Regions from separate parts of the Homo sapiens genome. Here region 2 is linked to region 1. Evidence: promoter capture Hi-C in human tissues and cell types (Jung and others, 2019). All regions are on one chromosome and are shown on one strand. Each heading gives the region's core, a stretch centred on a gene start or on the middle of the fragment in contact. The rest is flanking DNA. Distances are from core to core; before and after follow the strand shown. Region 1 holds the start of KCNC1 (potassium voltage-gated channel subfamily C member 1). Region 2 overlaps SERGEF (secretion regulating guanine nucleotide exchange factor).

What was found. The method cuts DNA at HindIII sites, captures the fragments that hold promoters and counts their contacts. A contact is called where the count stands out against the background at its distance.
Region 2: a contact is called between a fragment that was not itself captured here and the fragment with the promoter of KCNC1 in region 1, in 6 of the 25 tissues and cell types used here (bladder, dorsolateral prefrontal cortex, heart right ventricle and 3 more).

The regions. Positions count from the first base shown.
Region 1 is chr11:17,732,001-17,736,030 of GRCh38, forward strand. KCNC1 (potassium voltage-gated channel subfamily C member 1) reads left to right here and starts at 2,781. Exons shown (of 4, transcript NM_001112741.2): 1 at 2,781-4,030. The coding sequence starts at 4,003. RefSeq lists a silencer at 2,621-2,720. The HindIII fragment of the contact is 8,281 bases long and covers 1-4,030 here.
Region 2 is chr11:17,884,792-17,889,130 of GRCh38, forward strand. The region is part of intron 9 of SERGEF (secretion regulating guanine nucleotide exchange factor); the gene reads right to left. Among named protein-coding and RNA genes, the nearest start is that of SERGEF, 130 kb to the right of the region's middle. The HindIII fragment of the contact is 4,469 bases long and covers 1-4,136 here.

The sequences.
Region 1 (4,030 bases), core at 1,531-4,030:
TAGCATTCTCGCAGTGTGAAGGGGAAGTGAGAGAAGAAAGTTTGATGTCCTGTTCAGGATCCACAAGGGAGGCCATTCTTTGGGGCCTGGGCTGGGGGTGTGTCATCAGGGATCAAAGTGAGAATCCTAAAGTGGAACAGTGTGGGGCACATTGGGAACAGCTACCCTCTCCTGCTGGGGAGGCTCCTGTGTCTGAGTTTTCTCTGCTTACCTCTTGGGGGATTTTAGGGTGTAATGGGCTTTAGGGTGCAATGAATACCCTTTCACATTCCTTCTGCCTCCAACCCTGGCCTACCTCCCTCTTTCTAACACATCGTCCAGAGCCCCTAATCACCCAACCTTCTGCCTACCAGGAGCCCCTTGTTTCTCTCTGTCTCTCTGTGCCCCCTCCCCAACTGCCTGGGTCACACTGCAGCCCCCTATTAGGACTCGCCATGGCGTAGTGATGGGGCCCTGCACTGATTCCCTAAAAAACCCTGGGTAAGTCCCTCCTCCTGACTTGGTCTCCATTAGGTGTTCCAGACTCCCACAGTCTCTGCCACTTGGGTTCTAGGATCCCAGCCTCTCTCCTAGCCTTTCTCAAATCATCTGGACCTTAGTGAGGATCTACTGTATTCTGGGCACTCTGGAGGGAAGCAAACAAGAAGCCCTGGAGGAGCTGATGGTCCTTTTATGGAGATCAGATGAGCTATGGAGAAGATCAGGAGCCATACTCTGATCCCGTGTGGTTCTGCAGGTGAAGAGAGAGGTGAAGTCCTGGAACCCTATGGCTAGTAGAATCCCAGAAGATTCTTGGGTGAGAAGAGGGGCTGGACATCTGGGTAGAAAGAAAGGAAGGTTTGGAGAGGCTGCTTTCTTGTCTCTCCCCATCTTGATTTCTCCCAGCTGTGTGTGTGTGTGTGTGTGTGTGTGTGTGTGTGTGTGTGTGTGTGTGTATGTGTCTGCCTCTGTGTCCACCTTTTTCTCTTCCTTCTGGATTCTCCATTTCTATTTCATCTTCTACCAATGTTGGGACAGAATTTCCTGAGAACCCATGTCCCGGGGATCTGAATATGGGCCAGGATGGGCCACACCAGGCCGGGCCACACCAGGCCAGGCTTCCTTGTGGTTAGGAGATGGGGACTCACACTGGTCAGGGTGAAAGGGACACTCAAAATCACTCTCATCCCTGCATTACTCTGAGATTGAAGGGGAAACAGCTCCTATTTAGAGGAATCACACAGATCAATATCTGGAGGGAGGAGGTGCCATGCAGGCCCCAAAATCCAACCCTCTCTTTGTCTCTGCCCAACTCTGCCCATTTCTGACTTAATTTAGCCTCTCTGTCTCTCCCCTTGTCCTATTCCCATCTGTCAATCCTTGCCCTGCCCCTCTCCACCCCTTCAAGCCTTTTACCCACCACACACAGATTTTCCTGTGGCTAGATTGGGATTCCCCTGGCCAAGTAAGGAGAGCGATGTCTGTGGCACAGCTTTGTCCCCAGGCTCACAACGGCATCTGTGGGTCAGGGTAGAGGGACAGCTGTCTGCACAGTTAGAAAGTGCCAGCAGTAATAAAAGCCTCATATCTTCTTAATTAAATCGCCCTTTGCCCAGGCATCCTGTGTTCGATTGGGTTGAGCTGGGATCAATAAGCCTCTTTCCCACCCCAGCCACCCCTGGAGACGGGCCTGACCTCCCCAGTCCTGCCTAGGCCCACCTGGCCACCTCCCCAGAAGGCTGGGAGCTTCTCAAGGCCAGAGGCTGGGTCAGATTCATCTCTTGTGTCCTTGTGCCTGGGACGGATCCTGAAACAAGTAAGGAGTAAAGGAGTGATTGCTTTACTGAGTAAACCAAGGCACTAGCAGCAGGCATGGGCCAGGAAGGCTTTGAGGTTCAAACTGGAACTCCCACCCCCAGGACCAACTGTGAAGATGGAGGAATCACAGCAAGCAGCAGCTCCCACCCAGCTCCCAGACATAACACCAGCTTATCACCCAGGGCAGTTGAAGCCCTAGGAAGTGCGGGGTGGGGGTGTCAGTGCTCAGGGAAACTACGAGCAGTTGCTGCTTCTGACCTCTGAGGGCAGAAGGTCCTTTTCATAAGGGGTCTCCACCTAGGGATCCAGGGTTAGTGTGGGAGAGTCCGTGAGCTTGGATGGATGTGGCACTCATGGGAGACTCCCTCTGTCTGAAGCTATAAAGGGCCCAGGGTCAGTAAGGAGTCCAAAGGGGTTAATAGGGGTCCAGGATTGATTGTTAGTGGAGGGCGTAGAGGATAACGTGGTGTGTGTGTGTGTGTGTGTGTGTTGGGGTTCATGCAAGACATTACCCATGGAAGGAACATGGGGCCTCCAGGTTCCGCGAGAAGGGTCGGTATTAAAGGATTCCTTGGAGCGGTCAGCACTGGTCCGGGCCAGGGTGTCTCTGATGACAAAACTCCGGGAGAGCTTTGTCTCACCAGGGATCAGATGGTCCCTGGTTTGGAAGGCAAGGGGAGGGTGCCAACGCCCTTCTCACCTCAGTCTGACCCGGGGGCGCGGGCCCAGACGTCTCTCGGAGCCCCCGCCCCTGGAGTGGCGTTCCCCGAGGGCGGACCGTGGGCGGGTCCCCCGGGAGCAGCAGGAGCCGCGCGGGGCGGGCGCCCCCAGCGCCGAGGTTGAGGGAGGCCGGGCTCGGTGCGGGGCTGGGAGGGGGGCGCGGAATCAGGGCTTTTTAGGACCCAGCGCGGCGCCTTCCTCCGGGGGCGAGTGCGGCTGCGCGCGCCGTGTGCCCGTGTCCGGAGAGCGGCGGGCTGGACGCGGACCGCGCGAACGAGCAGGCGACGGGCGAGCAGCAAGCGGAGCAGCAGCCCGGGCGGCAGCAGCGTCGCGGCGGCGGCGGCAGCGGCCGCTCCGCGCCTCGCCTCACCGGCCTCGCTGGCCTCACCTCGCCGCGCCCGGACCCGCCACCCCCGCCTCCCCGCCCGACCTCCGCAGCCCCCGTCTCGGCCGGCAGCGCCCACCGCCTGCCCGAAGCGAGGAGCGGAGTGCGGGGCGCAGAGGCACCGGAGCCAGTGCCCGCCGGCCCCGCAAATCAAACCCAGCCAGGAGAACCCCCGCCTGGCCCCGTGCAGCTCCGCGACCGCCGGGAGCTGTCCCTTCAGCACCGCCGCGGGAGCCCAAGTCCGAGCGCAGCCCAGCGGAACCCCAGCTCGAGCCCGGGCTCACGGAGAGCAGCGCTCGGCGTTAGCCGCACGAGCAACACCCCGGGTGCCCCTGCCCAGGGGGCCCGCCATCTCCTCCAGGAGGCGGGGAGAAGGAACGAGGAGGGCGGGCGGGCAGGCGGGCCCGCCGCCGGGGGGAGCAGGCAGCCAAGCAAGGAGAGAGGGAGGGGGCCGGAGCCCGCCCTGCGTCCCGAGCTGCAGCCCGGCCACGCAGGGAGGAAGGCAGGCGGCATCCATCTCCCCCGCGCCGAGAGCGCGCCGCGGCGACCACCTCACAGAGGAGCGCGAATTTCCCGGCCCTGTCTCCTCCCCTCCCCCTCCTGGGGGCTGGCCTCTAGTCCGGCCCCGGGAGCGGCTGACCTTTCCCCCAAAAGCTTTGTGCCGATTTCTCCATTTTCCCGCGGAGATGGGGACGGGAGCCCGGCCCCCCAACCCATTTTCCCCACCTCCCGGGGCTCGCTGCTGAGCCCGCCCCCCTCCCTCTTTCCCCCTCACTCCCTCCCTCCCTCCCTTTCTCCCTCCCTTTCTCCCTCCCTTCTTTCCTCCTCTGCCTCCTCCGCTGCCGGACCAGCTCCCTCCCACATCTGGCTCCTAGAGACCCCTGGGATCCCGCGCACATTCCCCTGGACCGGCACCCGACAAAGCGCCCGGAGAGGCTTGGCTCGCTCGTTGGGGTGGCCAGAGCCGCAGGCCTCTGTTCCCCCCGACGGCTGGGGGGAGGGGGGAAGAGGGCGCGCGCCCCCCTCCCCGGCGCCAACTCCCCCTGGCGGCCGCTCCCATGGGTGTCGCTGGGCCGCGCCATGCCTAAGGGGGCGCCGCGATGGGCCAAGGGGACGAGAGCGAGCGCA
Region 2 (4,339 bases), core at 652-3,151, 150 kb after region 1:
AACTAGGTTCTGCTATCTTCCAGAGAAGTTGGGGTGAGAAGAAGAGAGCTAAAGTTTGGTTAAGTGCCTGGATGTCAAGCATGTGACATTATAGAATTTCACTTTACCTGCAATACCTCCCATCTTCACAGCCACTCTGAGAAGTGGGAATCTGTCTCCCTACATAGCAGGCCAGCAAACCCGCTCAGAGCAGTTAAGTCACTGGTCCCAGGTCTGCTTTGGTCCAAAGCCTGTAAGCTAACTCACTACACATACTGCCTCCTCCTCCTCTGATACTCTCCTCTTTTGATACAGAGTGTCCCTGTCACAAAGGCTCAAACTCTCAAGTGACAGTTCTAACTCTTTTCCTTATCTCTCTCCCACCCTTATATTTAGGCTGTCTCCAGATCCTGTTAATCCTGCCTTCTCAATGGTTCTCAAGTCTGACTTATTTCCAGCTGCTATCATCTTAGTTTAGTCCTTTTCGCCTCAGCCTGGAGTCTTAGCAACCAATGACTTTAAGCTTTCTTCTCACCATAATATCATGATCTGATCTGTTTTTGTTTTTAGAGACAGGGTCTTGCTCTATTGCCCAGGCTGGAGTGCAGTGGTGTGAACCTAGCTCACTATAACCTCGAATTCCTGGGCTCAAGCGACCCTTCTGCCTTAGCTTCCTGAGTAGCGAGGACTACAGGTACACACCACTATGCCTGGCCAATTTTTTTTTTTACTTCTTGTAGGAACAGGATCTCATCATGTTGTCCAGACTGCTTGAACTCCTGGCTTCAAGCGACCCTCCTCCCTCGGCCTCTCAAAGTTCTGGGATAACAGGCATGACCCACCGTACATGCATGGGCATGATCTGATTTTTTTTTTAATTAAAGTTGTCACAGTTATCAAAGTCTCATTACTGTTTAACACACATTTTACCACTCCTTTCCTAAATAAACCCTCTAACCCAGCAACACGAGTCTCTTTTCTGTCTCTGGAAAAATCTCATTTCCCCCACTTTTGTATCTTCATTTGTACCATTCTCCCTTCTCCATACCATTCTAAATCCAACCAACTCTACAAGGCCTAGTTCAAAACCTGAGGCAGTCCCCCAGATCACCTCAGCCTTTAGGAGATCTGCCTCCTCTCAATTCTCACCACTTGCCTTGGCTATAGTTTGCTTTTATCAAATCTCCTTTGTGCTTTTAACAGCTTGGACACGAGTATGGGGCATGTCAGTGTGAGGTAATGGAGAGAGTTCTGGATATGGAACCAGAAAACCTGGATTTAAGTCCTGATGCCCCCCGCCCCCACTTCCTAGCCATGTGACTTTGGGTAAATCTCTTTGCCTCCCTCTGGCCCTCAGTTCCCTCATCTGTAAAACGGAATTCAAACAACCAGGTATACCTCACGCATCCTAACCTCTGCTATCTACAGAATAAAATTCACTTTGGGCTTGACCCTGTTCTACAGATACATTTTAGGACTTATATATTATTTGAGAACATATGAAAGGAGACTATAAGCATTAGCAACTGGCATAGGTTCACTATGAAGAGTTCTTCAAGCTGGACACGGTGGCACACATCTGTAATCCCGGCACTTTAGGAGGCTGAGGCAAGCAGATAGCTTGAGCTCATGAGTTCAAGACCAGCCTGGGCAACATGGCGAAACCCTGTCTCTACAGAAAATACAACAAAATTAGCCCGGCGTGGTGAAGTGTGCCTGTAGTCCCAGCTAGTTGGAAGACTGAAGTGGTGTGGTAGGATCACTTAACCTGGGAGGCGAAGGTTGCAGTGAACCGAGATCATACCACTGTACTCCAGCCTGGGCGAGTACTAAAAGCGAGACTAAAAACAAAACAAAACAAACAAACAAAAAAACCTTCTTCAGTATAAACAGTTCATTTCCTTTTCCAATAGTTTATTGACAGATAAGGAGAGGGCTTGAGAAATGTCTACTGAATTAGAATATAATATACACAGTAATTAGGCTATAATATATACAATTAAACTAGCCAGGCAGTCAGACTGCTTGCTTTTCCCATAGTGCCCTTCTAAGGGAATGTCTTCATCATAAATGGCCGTGTTGATACCATGCAGTCCTGCTTCCTGGGGCCAAACCTAATTGGACTATGGATGGACACCTGTCTCAATGTGGATTAATGCATAGATTGACCACAGCCTGTGAAACGGCTTAGTGAAAATTCTGCCTTGAAACAGTTCTAGGGAGTGAGTCCTCCAGTTGGTAGCTGGAGCAGTAGCTGGAAGAAATAGACACAAGGAAGGTTAAGATGAGGAGGAGGTACAAGCAGAGGAGTCAGAAGCAGCAGGAAGGAACAGTAAAGTGAAGCTAAGTCACCAGGATGTGAGTTCTAAAGGAAGAATCAATAGATCCTACTGCTGAGGGCTCAAGAAGGTTTAGGCTTTTGAGTTGCCTTGGGTTCTAAATGACTTTCCCATTGTTCTTTTATAAGGCATTTGCTTCACCTGTTTTCCTCACTTATGCTAAAGTACAATACAGTCTTCACAATAATAATCTGCTAATATCTCTGGTCCTTGCCAACTAAAAAAGCCTAACACAACAATACATCTGGATTTCAGTAAAGGCATGCCACCAAGTTACTTAAGTTACTCAGTACTTGTACTGAGAACAAAATGGAACCATGTGAGTTGGACAATCAAACTAAAAGACAGGCAATTAATAGATTCAGGCCAGGTAAATATCCTATGGCAGGCTTCTCAGAAACAATTTAACCCTTTCCCTAGTAGCCATGATAGGTTAAAATTAAAAGACTGTCAACACCAAGTACTAACGAGGATGTGAAATAACTGGAACTCTTACACTGCTGACGGGAGTGTAAATTCAACAACTGCTTGGAAAAACTGTCTGGCAGTATCTACTAAAGCTAAACACATATGTGGACACTCAAGTACCCAAAATAAATTATTGCTTACTTCTATCAAAAGGCATGTACAAGCATGTTCATAGCAGTTTTATTCATAATAAAAATATGAAATAACACAAATATTCATCATCAGTATAATGGATACAGTGTAGTTCATTCAGAATACTTTACAGCAGGGGTCCCCAACCCCTAGGCTGCAGACTGGTAAAATTCCACGGCCTGTTAGGAACCAGGCCACACAGCAGGAGGTAAGCAGCAGGCAAGGGAGCGAAGCTTCATCTGTATTTACGGCTGCTTCCCATCGCTCACATTACCATCTGAGCTCCGCCTCCTGTCAGATCAGCGGTGGCATTAGATTCTCATATGAGCACAAACCCTATTGTGAACTCCGCGTGGGAGGGATCTAGGCTGCGCAATCCTTATGAGACTCTAACTAATGCCTGGTGATCTGAGGTGGAACAGTTTCATCCCGAAACCATCCCATCCCCACCTCTTCCAGGAAACCGGCCCCTAGTGCCAAAAAGGTTGGGGACTGCTGCTTTACAGCAGTGGGGGGAAATATTGATATTCACAACATAAGTAAATCTTTAAGAATAATAATATGAAACTCAAAAGTAGGCAAAACTGATTTCAAATAAATAATATAACTGCTCTGAAGGGGGTCAGAATAACTCTTGAACACAGTACTTTGACTAAATAACTTCTGTTTACAAACAAACAATGCAAAAAAAATTTAACTACTTTGTAGGTTATTTTCTTTCATTGCATGCGTGTATCAATTCTGAAAGTATTTTGTATATATTGTGGGACCATGCAAATGAGGAAATATATGAATGTTGCTAGGAGCCAGAATGCTCACTGTAGTTGAAGGAAACACAAATATAGAATGAGAGAAGGCAAAGAGAAACCCTGTGGATATCAGGTTAGAATTAGAGTTATCAGTATGAACTCACAGTTTTACACACACACACACACACACACACACACACACACACACACACACACACACGCATTGAGTTAAACCAACATGAAATTGCCCAGCAGCACTGACACCCCAGCAGCAATGAGTTTACTTGGTGCACAGACCCTGGCTTTTAAATACCATTCAACTAAGAGGGATCAGAGCTCCTCGGAGAAAAGGCTGATTCTAGGGTTGGGATGAGGAAAGAACAGTTTGAGCCTGGAACATGTATTTGTACCACGAAGTAAGAAAGTGATAAAAGAGTAAAGGAGACGTGTCAAAAGGAAACTAGCCAGCCTGAAACAGCTCCCACTAGCTAAATCAGGGAGAACTTGAGCTCCAAAATGAATAATGACAGTAGATTATAGCCCATTGAATAAAATAAAAATCCACTGTATATACTGAGCAATAGATAGATAGGGAAGCAGGGAAAGCTCTTTCTTATAGTAGGATGCCAAAAATAATAAATGTAAAAGAATAATTGGGCTAGAAAATAATTT